Regions from separate parts of the Homo sapiens genome. Here all the other regions are linked to region 2. The links are contacts of gene promoters, found by promoter capture Hi-C in blood cells and fetal thymus (Javierre and others, 2016). All regions are on one chromosome and are shown on one strand. The core of a region is centred on a gene start or on the middle of the fragment in contact, and the rest is flanking DNA. Distances in the headings are between cores, read along the strand shown. Region 1 has its middle 11 kb from the start of EBF2. Region 2 holds the start of DOCK5 (dedicator of cytokinesis 5). Region 3 has its middle 55 kb from the start of EBF2.

Region 1 (4,386 bases), core at 26-2,525, 870 kb after region 2:
CACTGCTGCCTCCAACTCCCAGGTTCAAGCAATTCTCGTGCTTCAGCCTCCTGAACGACTGGGATTACAGACATGTGCCACCACCCAGCTGATTTTTTTTTATTTTTAGTAGAAACACTGGGTTTCATCATTTTGGCCAGGCTGGTCTTGAACTCCTGGCCTCAAGTGATGCGCTCGCCTCCCAAAGTGCTGGGATTACAGGCATGAGCCACCACACCCCGCCCATTTTATTCAAAATATTTTGATGTTTATTTATCAACTATAGTCCATCTGGAATTTATTTCCATTTATATTAAGAGGTGGAAATCAAACTTCTGTCACTAAACTCTTAATTGTACCAACAGCATTTATTAAATAATCCTTAATTTCTCCCAAAATGTGAAACATTGGTATGTGTATATATATATATGTATACATATACACATGTACGTATATATACACGTATATATACGTACGTACGTATATATACACGTATATATACGTACGTACGTATATATACATGTGTATATATATATGGAGAGAGAGAGAGATTTTAAAATTAGAACTGGAAATTTATGACATTTAGAAACTAGAAAAACCACATGCTTTTTAGTTTATGCAGTTTATTTTATGTCCTGCAGTAAACCTTGTAGTATTGGCTGGTCTTGGTGGCTGATGTCTGTAATCCTAGCACTTTGGGAGGTCAAATGCAGGAGGATTGCTTGAGCCCAGGAGTTCAAGAACAGCCAGGACAACATCGTGAAAGCATGTCTCAAGTAAAAAAATAAAAATAAATTTAAAAAAAAAGCCTGTAGTTTATTCATATAGGTCCACCACAAATTTTGTTTGAATTATTCCTAGGTAGTTTGTATTTTTTTTCTACTGTAGTTCCTGATTATTGCTGAAATATGGGGAACTTGTTCATTTATTACACACAGAGATATCTTTCTTAGCTCTTATTAGTTGTCCTAGTTTCTTAATTGATTCAGTTAGACTTTCCAAGTAGACAATTATATCACCTACTTAATGATAATTTGGTCTTTTTCTTTCTAGTAAAGTAAACCTGATTTATTTTACCTGTTTAGTTTACCTGTTTAGTTTCATTGTATTAGAATACAATGGCAAAGAGTAGAAGTATCAGAGATACACTTTATATTGTGTCTGAATATTATGGATATTTTTATAATGTGTTATTAAGTTGATGATTGGTGTCTGATATTATAAAGTACAGATTTATCTCAGGTTACTGAGAACTTTGATTATAAATAGATGTTGAATTGTATCAAATATATTGTTAGCACTTATTAGGGTGATTATAGACTTTTCCTCATCTTTCTATTATTGTTATTAATTAATATATTTACTAATAATGACATATTTTTGAATTTCTATAGTAAACCCAACATGGTCATTTAATCATTTATGCATCCATTACAAATTTATCAGACACTCACCTTACCAGGGACACCATGGTAAATGACACCAAGTCCACACCCCTGAGAAATTTATACTCCAGGGAAAAGATGATGATTGATTTGCAATTTTCTCATGTTAATTCTGTCTTTGCAGGTGTGTTGTGTATTTACTCACCTGACATCCATCATTTATTCTCACCTCCTCTTCTGTGCCTTTCTGTCCTGGAGATTTACTTCTTTGGTGTTCTGTGGATCATTTTAGAAGGCCCTGCTTGAAGTTTGCCTCTCCAACTCTTCCAACAATTTTACAAACTCCACACCCCCTTTTTTAAATCTCTTTTTCTATGATGTTTGGAAGATTTTCTATTTCTTATGCCAATCTCCAACTAGCACATCAGATTTTGGTATCAGGGTTATATAAGCTCTGTAAAAATAATTTCTATGATTTTTTAAATATACAAGTTTAGTTTAAATAGCATAGGATCTATATTTTCTTTAAATTAACAGAACTTGGCCAGGCACAGTGGCTCACACCTGTAATCCTAGCACTTTGGGAAGCCGAGATGGGAGGATCACTTGAGACCAAGAGTTCGAGACCAGCCTGGTCAACATAGCAAGAACCCCCCGCCCCCCCCCGCCCCATTCTCTATTAAAAAAAAATTAACAAAACTTTCCCATAAAGGCTTTGATAAATTATCTAATTTATTTGATGGTTAATGATTTATTCAGGTTTTCTATCACTTACTGAGTATATTTGGATAATTTTTATTCTCATATAAAATAATCTATATCATTAATATTTTTAAATACATTACCATAGAGCTGTACCTTGTATTCTGCTATAACTTTAATTTTCTGTATCTGAAACAATTTTTTCCCATTGCCAGAGTTGAATATTTTCATTTTGCATCCTGTTTTATTTATTTATTTTTAATACTTTAAGTTGTGGGTTATATGTGCAAAACGTGCAGTTTTGTTACATAGGTATACATGTGCCATGGTGGTTTGCTGCACCCATCAACCCACCACCTACATTAGGTGTTTCTCCTAACGTTATCCCTCCCCTAGCCACCCACCCCCCGATGGACTTGGAACCAACCTAAATGTCCTGTTTTATTTTTATTCCTCCAGACTTTTCTAATTTATACTCCCATCAACAGGGCACCAGAAACTTGGTATTATCTGACTTTGTAATTTTGGCAAATCTGATGGGTATAAAGATATATCTTGCTGTTGTTTTAATGTGCATTTCTTTGCTTGCTGGTGAAGTTGAGCATCTCTTCAAACGTTTTTTAACCATTTGGATCCCCCACCAATTAACCACTTATTGATAGCATTTTTCCACTGGATTTTCAGCCTTGGAGATGGTTGTTGCTGCTGCTTCTGCTGCTGTTGATGTTGATGATTGGCGGAAGGATTTTATATGTTTAGATGTTAATTGTCAGTTTTAGATGTTACAGATATTATCTCTTAATCTGTCATTTGTCTATAACTTGGTCAGTGTTGTCCTCTGCTGATTAGCAATGCTTTATTTTTATCTGGTCAATTCCGTCCACTTTTGTGCTTTGGAGTCCTACTTAAGAAGTCTTTCTACACCTCAAAATTACACAAAAAAATCCAACACTTCTAATTTCGTCTTTTACATCCACATGTTTAATCCCATGCATATGAGATTAACTTGTGACATTGTCTAAAATAGTGGTCCAGATTCTGTTTTCTCCATTAAATGAGCTATAACTGAACTATTATACCACCAAATGCCTTGTAGCATGGCAAGAAAGAAAATTGTCCCAAATATGGTCTGGGACACAATTTTCTTTATGTATGTGATATAATTTATAATTCCTTCTGGGAAATAATTAGCATCCTTGTGTGATTTTTTGGTAGACTTTATTGAGCTCAAGAGCATCTTCTGAGAAGCTATCAGTCTTGAGAAGAGTCTGATAACATTAACTGGCACTGCCTTATTGTATTTTTCTACAACCTCTTCTTCAAAGAAAAAAATCTGCAATGGCTGGCTCAGGACCTTCTTTCCCCAGGGCAAATCTGAAATAAAGCTTTGACATGAGCCTGTAAGAATTTTTTCAGAAAGGGTACTTTAACAACAGCCTACATAGTCTTCAGCTCTTCTAGATAGAACTGAAGACTGTATGGATGAACCTTCCCCTCCATCCACTCACGCCTGTAATATGTCTTAGAGAAATTCCTTAAAGTTTATTATATGAGAATAGCACCTCTGTCTAGTTTCCAGCAATAATGGGCTTTTAAAAATTATATTTCTCAGTATTTGAGAAGTTTCTTGGACATGACATGTGGATATTATCATTTTTTACAACAATATCACTGCCTCCATTACAGTTCTGTTTGGTAAAACTTCCCAAGAATTGTTTAGAATCTTTAAGTGTTAATTCCCAGTATTTTTACTCTCATTGAAATGACAATTTAAGTTGTTTAAAGTGTTATTTTCCCAGTAGTTCTACAATGGTTCATAAATGATCTCTTTCTTTAAACTGCCAATTCTCTTTCTATGTCTAAGGACTTTACATATTCAGTGCTCTTCCTACAGAGGGGAGTGAATTTGAATATTTGGGGTGAGCTACTTAACATCAGCATGCTTCACTGTTTTCATGTATAAAACATAATGATGATATAGTTTAGAAATTTTTTATTGTTTTTCAGGTAATGGGAGTTGAGACTGAGTCCCAGATGGATTTTTATTCAGATCCTCCAGGCCTTAATGAAAAAAGAATCAGAAGCTTTAGGTTATTGTGCATTTTACTTCTCTAGATTTAAGCTCCAATGGGCTATGGAGAACAGGAAGGCAGCTACAACTACAAGCAGCCGTACCAGGGAGCTTCATCTTCATGTCGGAGGGTTTTGTTTTTTTTTTTTGAGATGGAGTCTCTGTTGCCCAAAGTGGAGTGCAGTGGCTCAATCTCTACTCACTGCAACCTCTGCCTCTCAGGTTCAAGTGATTCTCATACCTTAGCCT
Region 2 (4,026 bases), core at 58-2,557:
TTTGTATTTTAGTAGAGAAGGGGTTTCACCATGTTGGCCAGGCTGGTCTGGAACTCGTGACCTCAGGTGATCCACCCGCCTCGGCCTCCCAAAGTGCTGAGATTACAGGCATGAGCCACCACGCCTGGCCAACTACCTGTCTTTACTATCTTTACTACATGTTTGTCTTCCTTTCTTTTATATTCCTAAAACGCATGAAAACCTTCACAGGCTGCAAGGAGGATATAATTTCTCTCTAGAGGAATCTTCTTCGAAGGTGAACGTAATTAAGCTGGTCATTTACTCTACTTGCAATGTTACTTCTCGGTACAAGGTAGGGAGAAACCCCTGGATCTTCATTCTCCAAGTCTCTCCAGGAAGAAATGAATTCCAAGAGGGGAGCTCCAGAGAGGGCGCCACCTGGAGCCCAAGGCGGTTCAAATGCGCAGCCCCTTTGGGATCTTCGTCAAGAAAAGGCAGTCGTTGACGGAGAAAAGACGGGGATGCGCCTTGGCCCTTTCTCCACGGGAATGCTCTCTGGGCTGCTGGCTGGTTGGGAAAGGGAGGTCTGGGCATGAGGGTCTAAGTTTCTTCAGCTTAAGGTTGGGGGGTCCCCGGAGTTTGGGGATACAGGACTTCCAAATTAGGGCTTTCTAAACAATTTCCCTGCAGAGGATCCCCTAGCAAACGGTCTGATACTTCTGAGGAGCCCACCTCCCTTGCACCAGCTCTCCGGTGATAAAAGTTCTGCTTTCCAGGCTCTAAGCGGTGGCCCCGGGAGATTCAGTCTGCCCTGAGTCCGGCTTCTCCCGCTCGCGGCGCGGGTTCAAGCTCCAGGGGGTGAAGGCAGAAGTCAACTGCTCATTCATTCAACAAATATTTATTGCGCGCCCGCTTAGTGCCAGGCACCGGAGGTGCCCCGAGCAAGAAGCCGCTCTCGCTGATCCGTTTCCGCTCCCCAAGTGTCCGGCGCGCGCCGTGGGAGCGCAGCCCGCATCCCTCGCCCACCGGCCGCCCGGCCTGGGCGTGCCCGGCTCCTCCAGCGCAGCCCTCTGTCGGGAGCCGGACCCCCGGGACCCAGCCTCCGGGGTATCAGCCGGGTGGGGAGGGCGGGAGAAAGGCAAAGTGCCGCCAGCGTCAAAGTCCCGCCGGCCCAGGAAGCCGCTCCAGGGAAGCGCGCGAGGCGGAGCCGCAGTCGGCCCCCGCCCGGCAGAGCGCAGAGAGCGGCGCGGGCGGGAGAGGCCGGGCGCCCGCGGCTCGGAGGCGGCCCCGGCGGGCGGAGGGTGCGGCCGGCGGGAGGGACTGGGGCGGCGCCAGGAGGGGCGCGCACTGCTGCGCTGCAGCCCGGCCCAGCAGGTGACCGCGGGCGGCGCGGGCACGGGCACGGGCGCGGGCGGCGCGGCGAGGAGGCGGCCCGCGGAGTCCAGCGAAGTTTGGCGGAACATGGCGGAAGCGTCTGGGGCACGCAGGAGCGCGGGGCGGCGGCGGCCGGAGCCCGAGGAGCTGTAGCAGCCTTAGTCGCCGCCGCCGCGGGGCGAGGTCGCCGCCATGGCCCGCTGGATCCCGACCAAGAGGCAGAAGTACGGGGTTGGTGAGTGCGCGCCCCACCTTGTCCCGGCCCGACCCACGCGGCCAAGTTCGCGGACAGCGGCCCTGCCAGGTTTGCGCAGAGCCCGGCGGAGGACCCTGGCCGGGGGCTCGGCCCGGCTGCGCAGCTCTGGGAGCCGGGGACGGTAGGAGTCCTCTCCAGGGAGCGCCGATGGGGAAGTCGCCCAGGGTTTGGGGACTCCGAGTGCTTCCAAGTGCAGCTGAGCTTCGGGACCGTAATCCCGCTCTTGCATCCCAATCTCCGGCACTTCACACCAGGGAAATGTCAACGCGAGGGGGGCGCGCCTGCTGCTCTTTTGGGGCCGCAGCTCTGTGGCTCGCCCCGGTGCGCCCAGCGTGGGTTTCACCTGGGAGTAGGTGACCAGCCCGGGTCGGCACATGGACTGGTGCTCATTGTCCCAGTGCTTTCTGCCCCCCGCTTTCGTAGGTTCTTCTCAGACGCCCCTTAAGTGAGGAGTTGAGGGTGGAAAGCCGCCCTGCCCCCTTTCCTCCAGAGACTGGGATCTTGATGACAGTTGTGAGCTGGATGGAAACTAGAGTCGTGGCGTGGAAGTGATGGAAGGGACAGGAAGTTGTGGCACGGGAAGGGGGTGGCTGGCCCCTGGGGCTGTTTGTGCGCACTCATCCCCTAACGGAGCCTGTCTGGAGAGGGTGTAAGGCTGCCTTCCGGATCCTGAGTTTCATCCTGGAGACGAGAAGAGGACATTTTATTAAGGAAACTGTGCCAGACCCCGTGCTGGGCACTTGGCATTCAGAACAGCGGTGCTGGAGAGCCCCGGGTTGTGCGCAGGGGTTGCTGGTGGTGGTGCTTTGGCTCCGAAACAATAGATGTGCGGGGATTTTGACCCAGGTGGAAAGTCAGGCTCCTTTGGCTTTTTATCAAGGATTGAAGTTATTGAGGGCCTGTGGGAAGACTTCTGCCCTGAACGGGGTGATTACAATGGCAGTTAGACCTGGGGTGATTCCCTACAATAAACACGGCTGAGTGTGTTGCGAATTTTATCACTTCCTCTCAGATCCATTCATTTGGCCTGTTTGTAATTTAGTCTTTGACTTTACTCCCTTACTGAGGTCCTGTTTTTCCTCACCTCACTGGTTAATGAAGTGCAGTCTCAATTAAGAGCTACTCAACGTGTCTAGGGGCTTTTCAACTCTGTAGCCAGGAGTCAGGGTTTTTTGTTGTTGTTTGTTTTGTTTTTTAACAGTCTCATATTTACTATATTATTCTTAGGTTGTGATCCTTTATATATTTATTATTTTTTGTTTTCCCTCAATTCAAAAGACATTTTCTTTTTTGCTCTTAAGTTGCTTTTAGAATCTTAGTCTCTCCCTTAGCTGCATCTCAGAAATGGGTAGAGATGTTGCTTCTGCCTCAGGGCTCTTTTTTTTTTTTTTTTTGGTTTGTTTGTTTTTGAGACGGACTGACGAGGGAGTCTCACTCTGTCGCCCAGGCCGGAGTGCAGTGGCGCAATCTCGGCTCACTGCAAGCTCCACCTCTAGGTTCCAGCAATTCTCCTGTCTCAGCCCCCCTCCCCGAGTAGCTGGGATTACGGGCTTGCATCACTACACCTGACTAATTTTTGTATTTTTAGTAGAAACCAGGTTTCGCCATCTGGGCCAGGCTGGTCTCAAACTCCTGACCTCAGGTGATCCGCCTGCCTCGGCCTCCCAAAGTGTTGGGATTACAGTCATGAGCCACCTCACCTGGCCCCTAGATGAAAGCATATTTACAATGCCCAATCACTACAGAAATGTTATCAACTCTAATTTTATCAGGATTAAAAGCTCTTTTCAAAACTATTCAGTTGAGGGTAATTAATGCAAACATGTTTCAAAAATGTGGTTTTTATTGCCATAGTCCTAGGAGCAAGTATAATTGTTTTTAATATTTTGTTTTTATGTTCTGGAGTCAGTTTACTGTGTCACTTATCAGTCAAGAAAAATATTTGGGCCAGGTGCGATGGCTCACGTCTGTAATCCCAACAATTTGGGTGGCAGAGGCAGGAGGATTGCTTGAGCCCAGGAGTTCAAAACTAGCATAGCAACATGGCAAACGGGTCTTTACAATAAATACGAAAAAAATTTAGCCGGGCATGGTCGCCTGTGCCTGTGGTTCTAGCTACTGAGGAGGCTGAGGTGGGAGGATAGCTTGAGCCTGGGAGGTTGAGGGTGCACCGAGCCCCCATCACGACACTGCACTCCAGCCTGGGTGATACTGTGAGACCCGATCTCAAAAAAAAAACTATATATACATATATATACGTATATATATATATACACACACACACACACGTATACACACACATATATGTATATATGTATATACATATATATGTATATATGCGTATATGTGTGTGTGTGTATATATATATGTATATGGAAATATGGGTGGAAATTGTGTGTGTGTGTGTGTGTGTGTGTGTGTGTGTAAAATATTTG
Region 3 (4,695 bases), core at 1,930-4,429, 920 kb after region 2:
GTATTTTGTTGTAGAGGTGGGGTTTCTCCATGTTGCCCAGGCTGGTCTCAAAATCCTGGGCTCAACTTATCCGCCCATCTCAGCCTCTCAAAGTACTGGGATTACAGGTGTGAGCCACCACATTCAGCCTTGACTCCATTCTTGATGTTTGGCTGCCGACAGCTTACAAGCCCCACCCTTGCCCCTTTTGTCCCACATACAGGCAAACCAGTAAGAAAGCCCACAGGCTCTCCTCTGTCCCCTTGATACTGAAAGTTCAAACCACACAAGTCTCCTACACTGGCCCACCCCCAGCCACAACATAAACCAAATTCACTTGTCCCAGTCACCCTCTTGGCTGAAGCCATTCTTGACTCCCTTGTACCTACCCTGCTCTCCTGAAAAAGTCCCATTATGTGAGTAATAAATTTTTTCATACCCTCTTGATAAGAATGGCATCATCAGTCTTGACATCCAAACCTATTTTGAGCAGCGAAGTTAATCCTGCCCTCCATGAGGCCACCACACAGCAAATTAAAAGTAAAAAGATAGAGAAAAAGGAACATGTACCCAGAAAGCAAAAGATGATGAGGCTATATTGTTACAAGACAAAGTAGGCTTTAAGATAAGGAATATTGTCAGGGATAGGGAGGTGATTTGGTAATGATGAAAGATTCTATTCATCAAGACTACAAACAATCCTAAATATGTATGCATCTATATCGGATCTTAAATATTAAAATAAGATACATCTTACAGAACCAAAGGAAGAAACAGACAAATCCATAATCATAGTTGGAGATTTTAATACCAATCTCCTAGTAATAGAAGCAACAGACAAAAGTTTAGTAAGGATTTAGATTTGAACAGCACTATCAACCAATTTGACTTAATTGACTTTTATAGAAGCGTATACCTTATAACCACTTAACGTATATGTGTATTTGTCAAGTGCATATGGAATGTTCAGATAGAACACTTACTGGGCCATAAAATAAGTGTCAACAGTTTCAAAAGATTGAAATACAGAACATGTTCTATGACCACAATGAAATTAAAATTAAGAATAAATAACAATGAGATATCTAGAAAACTCCTAAGTATTGGAAATTAAACAGCATATTCTCAATGACCAAATAAGATAATGAAATAAGTTTTAAAATTTTTTAACTAAATGATAATGAAAACACAACATATAAAAACTTGTGAGATATAGCTAAAGCACTGATTCCCGGGAAATTTGAAGACTTATATTAGAAAACAAGAAAAGTTTAAAATTAATGAGCTATGTTTCCATCCTCAGAAGCTAGAAGAGCAAATTAAATGCAAAACAAGTGATATGGTTTGGCTGTGTTCCCACCCAAATCTCATCTTGAATTGTAGCTCACATAATCCCCACGTGTGGTAGGGACCTGGTGGGAGGTAATTGAATCATCAGGGTGGGTCTTTCCTGTGCTGTTCTTAAAGTGAATAAGTCTCATGAGATTTAATGGATTTTTAAAGTTCAGTTCCCCTGCACACGCTCATTTGCCTGCCACCATGTAAGACATGACTTTGCTCCTCCTTTGTCTTCCACCATGATTGTGAGGCCTCCCTAAACATCTGGAACTGTGAGTCCATTAAACCTCTTTTTCTTTATAAATTAATCGGTCTTGGGTATGTCTTTATTAGCAGCATGAGAACAGATGAATACAACAAGTATAAATAGGGAAATAATAAAGAGCAGAAATTAATGAAATGAAAAGTAGGAAAAAAAGGAAGCCAAAATTTGGTTATTTGAAATATCAATAAGATTAATAAATCTCTATCGAGATTGAGTAAGAAAATTAGAAAAAAGACACAAGTTACTACCAGCAATGAAAAAAGAGAGGACACTATAAGATTTCAGAGATAATAAAGTGATAAGAAAATGTTATTAATGGCTAAATGACAACAAATTTGACAACTTATAGGAAGTGGACAAATTCCTTGAAAAATATGACTCACCAAAACAGACACAAGAAGATATAGAAAGAATGGCTTGATATCACTGAAATTGAATTTGTGATGAAAATTCTTTCTACAAAGAAAACTCTAGGCCCAGATAATTTGGTAAACTTAAGCAATTAATGCTAGTCTTAACAGCTTTTTCAGCCAGAGGGAACACTTCACCGCACATTTGGTGAGGCCAGCATAGCACTGATACTAAAACCTAAAAAAAAGTCATTGAAAGCAAAGAAAATCATAGGCTAATATCCAACATACATTCCACGAAAATAAAATTACAGACCAGGATTTTTTAGACATTAGCAAGTAGAAGACAGAAATATAAGAAAAGGATAATACCTCATGACCAAGTGGGGTTTATCCCAGGAATATAAAGAAGTTTAACATTCAAAAATTAATATACTCCTTCACATAAGGATAAAGGAGATATCATACAAACATGAAACAAAAGAAACTTGGAATGGCTACACTAAAATGAGACATGGTAGATTTCAGAACAAGGACTATTACTAGAGGGAAAAAAATTCATATTAATAAAGAGAACTACTTATCATTCAGTTGTAAAAAAATCTTAAATGTGTTTGCACCAAAGAGATATTTCAAAATAAACGAAGCAAAAAACAAAACAACAACAACATAAAAACCCTCAAAAGATTGAAAGAAGAAATCCACAATTAGAGAAAAAGAGTTGATTATTTTTTCTTCAGTCATTACTAGAGCAACTTCATGGAAAAATTATTGAAGAGATAAAAGACTTGAAAAACACTATGTAGCAATTTAATCAATTTACATTTATACAACATTTCACCCAACCACAAAAGAATATACGTTTTTGTTTAAGTGCACCTGAAACATTCACAAAGATAGAACATATGCTGGGCTATAATACAAGTTTCAACAAATTTTAAAGATTAAAACCATACTGAATATATTCTCTAACCACAACAGAAAAGAAAATGAAAATCAGTAACAGGAAGATATCTTTTAAATCTCAAATGCATAGTTAATAAACTAAATGAAAATGAAATCACAAGGCACAAAACTTGTGGGATGCATCTAAAGCAGTGCTCCAAGGGAGTTTTGAAACTTTAAATGCTATTTTGGAAGACAAAAAAAAGGGTATATGATCAACGGTCTAAGCTTCCATCTTAAGAAGCTAGAAAAAAGAAGAACAAATTCAACCCAAAGTAAGTATAAGGAATAGAATATAAAAAAGCAGAAATCAATGAAATAGAAACAGAAGAATAGTACAGAAAAAAATCAATAACAGCAAAACTGATTCTCTTTTATAAGCTTAATAAAGTTGATAAATCACGTACAAAAATTAAAAATATAGAAAGGATAATAACTTAATAAATTCGACAACTTAGATAAATGGAACAAATTTCTTAAAAGATAAAAATTACCAAAACAGTTTCAAATGGAAATAGAGTATCTGTATAGCCCTATATATAAAAGAAATTGAATTCAAAATTTTAAAATTACAAAGAAAACTCCAGGCCTGCATGGCTTCCTAGGTGAATTATGTTAAACATTTACAGAAGAAATAATGCCAATCTTTCATAGGCTTTTCTGGGAAATAGAAGAGAAGCAGATATATCCTAATCATTCAATGAGGATAGTATCACCCATATACCAAAATCTGACAAAGATTTCATAACAACAGGAAACTACAACCTATCCCTCATTAACTTAGATGCAAAATCATCAACAAAATATGCAAAAAAATCCAAAAAACAAGGCCAGCAATATATTACAAGAATAATATGTTATGAGTAAATGACATTTATTTCAGGAATGCAAAGTTGGTTTAATGATTTAAAAGAGTCAAGTTGCAAGGAGTCTCAAATAGCCGAAACAATCCTAAAAAAGAAGATAAAGTTGGAAAGCTCACACTTTCTGTTCAAAAATTATTACAAAGCTACAATAATTAAAACTATATAACAGTGGCACAAGGACAGACATAGGGACCAACAGAATAAAACAGCCCAGAAATAAACCCTCACATATATGTTTATTGATGTTCAACAAGGGTGTCCAAACATTTAATGGGGTAAGACAGTCTTTTGAACAAAGGGTGTTGGGAAAACTAGATATCCGTATGCAAAAGAATGAAATTGGATTCTTACTAGACACCATATATAAAAAATGATCCAGAATGAATCACAGACCTAAAATTAAGAGTTAAAACTGTAAGACTCTTAGAAGAAAACACAGAGTAAATCATCATGACCTTGAATTTGGCAGTGGATTCTTAGATATGACACCAAAAGCACAGGCAATAAAAGAAAAAATAGATAAACTGTACTTCAATTAAGTTAAGAAGTTTAGTGCATCAAAAGATACTATCAAGAAAGCAAAAAAGACAATCTACTGAATGGGGGAAAATGTTTTATCAGATAAAGTATTAATTTCCAAATTATATAAACAACTCAACAAAAACCACAAAAATAACCCAATTCAAAAATGGGCAAAGGATTCATATAGACGTTTCTCCAAAGAAGATGTGCAAATGACCAATAAACACATGAACTGATACTCAACATCATTGGTCGTTAGAGAAATGCAAATCAAAACCTCAATGAGATAACATTTCACACCTACTAGAGTGGCTGTAATTTTTAAATTTTAAGAAAAAAAACAGAAAATAATAAGTGTTGGCGAAGATGTAGATAACATTGGAAACCTTGTATTTCTGGTAGGAAAGAAAAATGGTGCAGCCACTGTGGG

Evidence for each region. Contacts are between HindIII fragments. The CHiCAGO score rates a contact against its expected background, and 5 or more counts as called.
Region 1: a contact is called between a fragment that was not itself captured here and the fragment with the promoter of DOCK5 in region 2, in 1 of 17 cell types (fetal thymus). The highest score is 5.9, in fetal thymus.
Region 3: a contact is called between a fragment that was not itself captured here and the fragment with the promoter of DOCK5 in region 2, in 5 of 17 cell types (total CD4 T cells, naive CD4 T cells, naive B cells and 2 more). The highest score is 7.9, in total CD4 T cells.

The regions. Positions count from the first base shown.
Region 1 is chr8:26,054,373-26,058,758 of GRCh38, forward strand. No RefSeq gene overlaps it. Among named protein-coding and RNA genes, the nearest start is that of EBF2, 11 kb to the left of the region's middle. The HindIII fragment of the contact is 4,348 bases long and covers 1-3,449 here.
Region 2 is chr8:25,183,382-25,187,407 of GRCh38, forward strand. It overlaps DOCK5 (dedicator of cytokinesis 5), which reads left to right and starts at 1,308. Exons shown (of 52, transcript NM_024940.8): 1 at 1,308-1,570. The coding sequence starts at 1,528. LOC124901912 (a long non-coding RNA gene) reads right to left here and starts at 996. Exons shown (of 2, transcript XR_007060861.1): 1 at 1-996. RefSeq lists silencers at 1,126-1,205, 1,216-1,385, 1,556-1,605. The HindIII fragment of the contact is 10,671 bases long and covers 1-4,026 here.
Region 3 is chr8:26,098,423-26,103,117 of GRCh38, forward strand. No RefSeq gene overlaps it. Among named protein-coding and RNA genes, the nearest start is that of EBF2, 55 kb to the left of the region's middle. The HindIII fragment of the contact is 153 bases long and covers 3,104-3,256 here.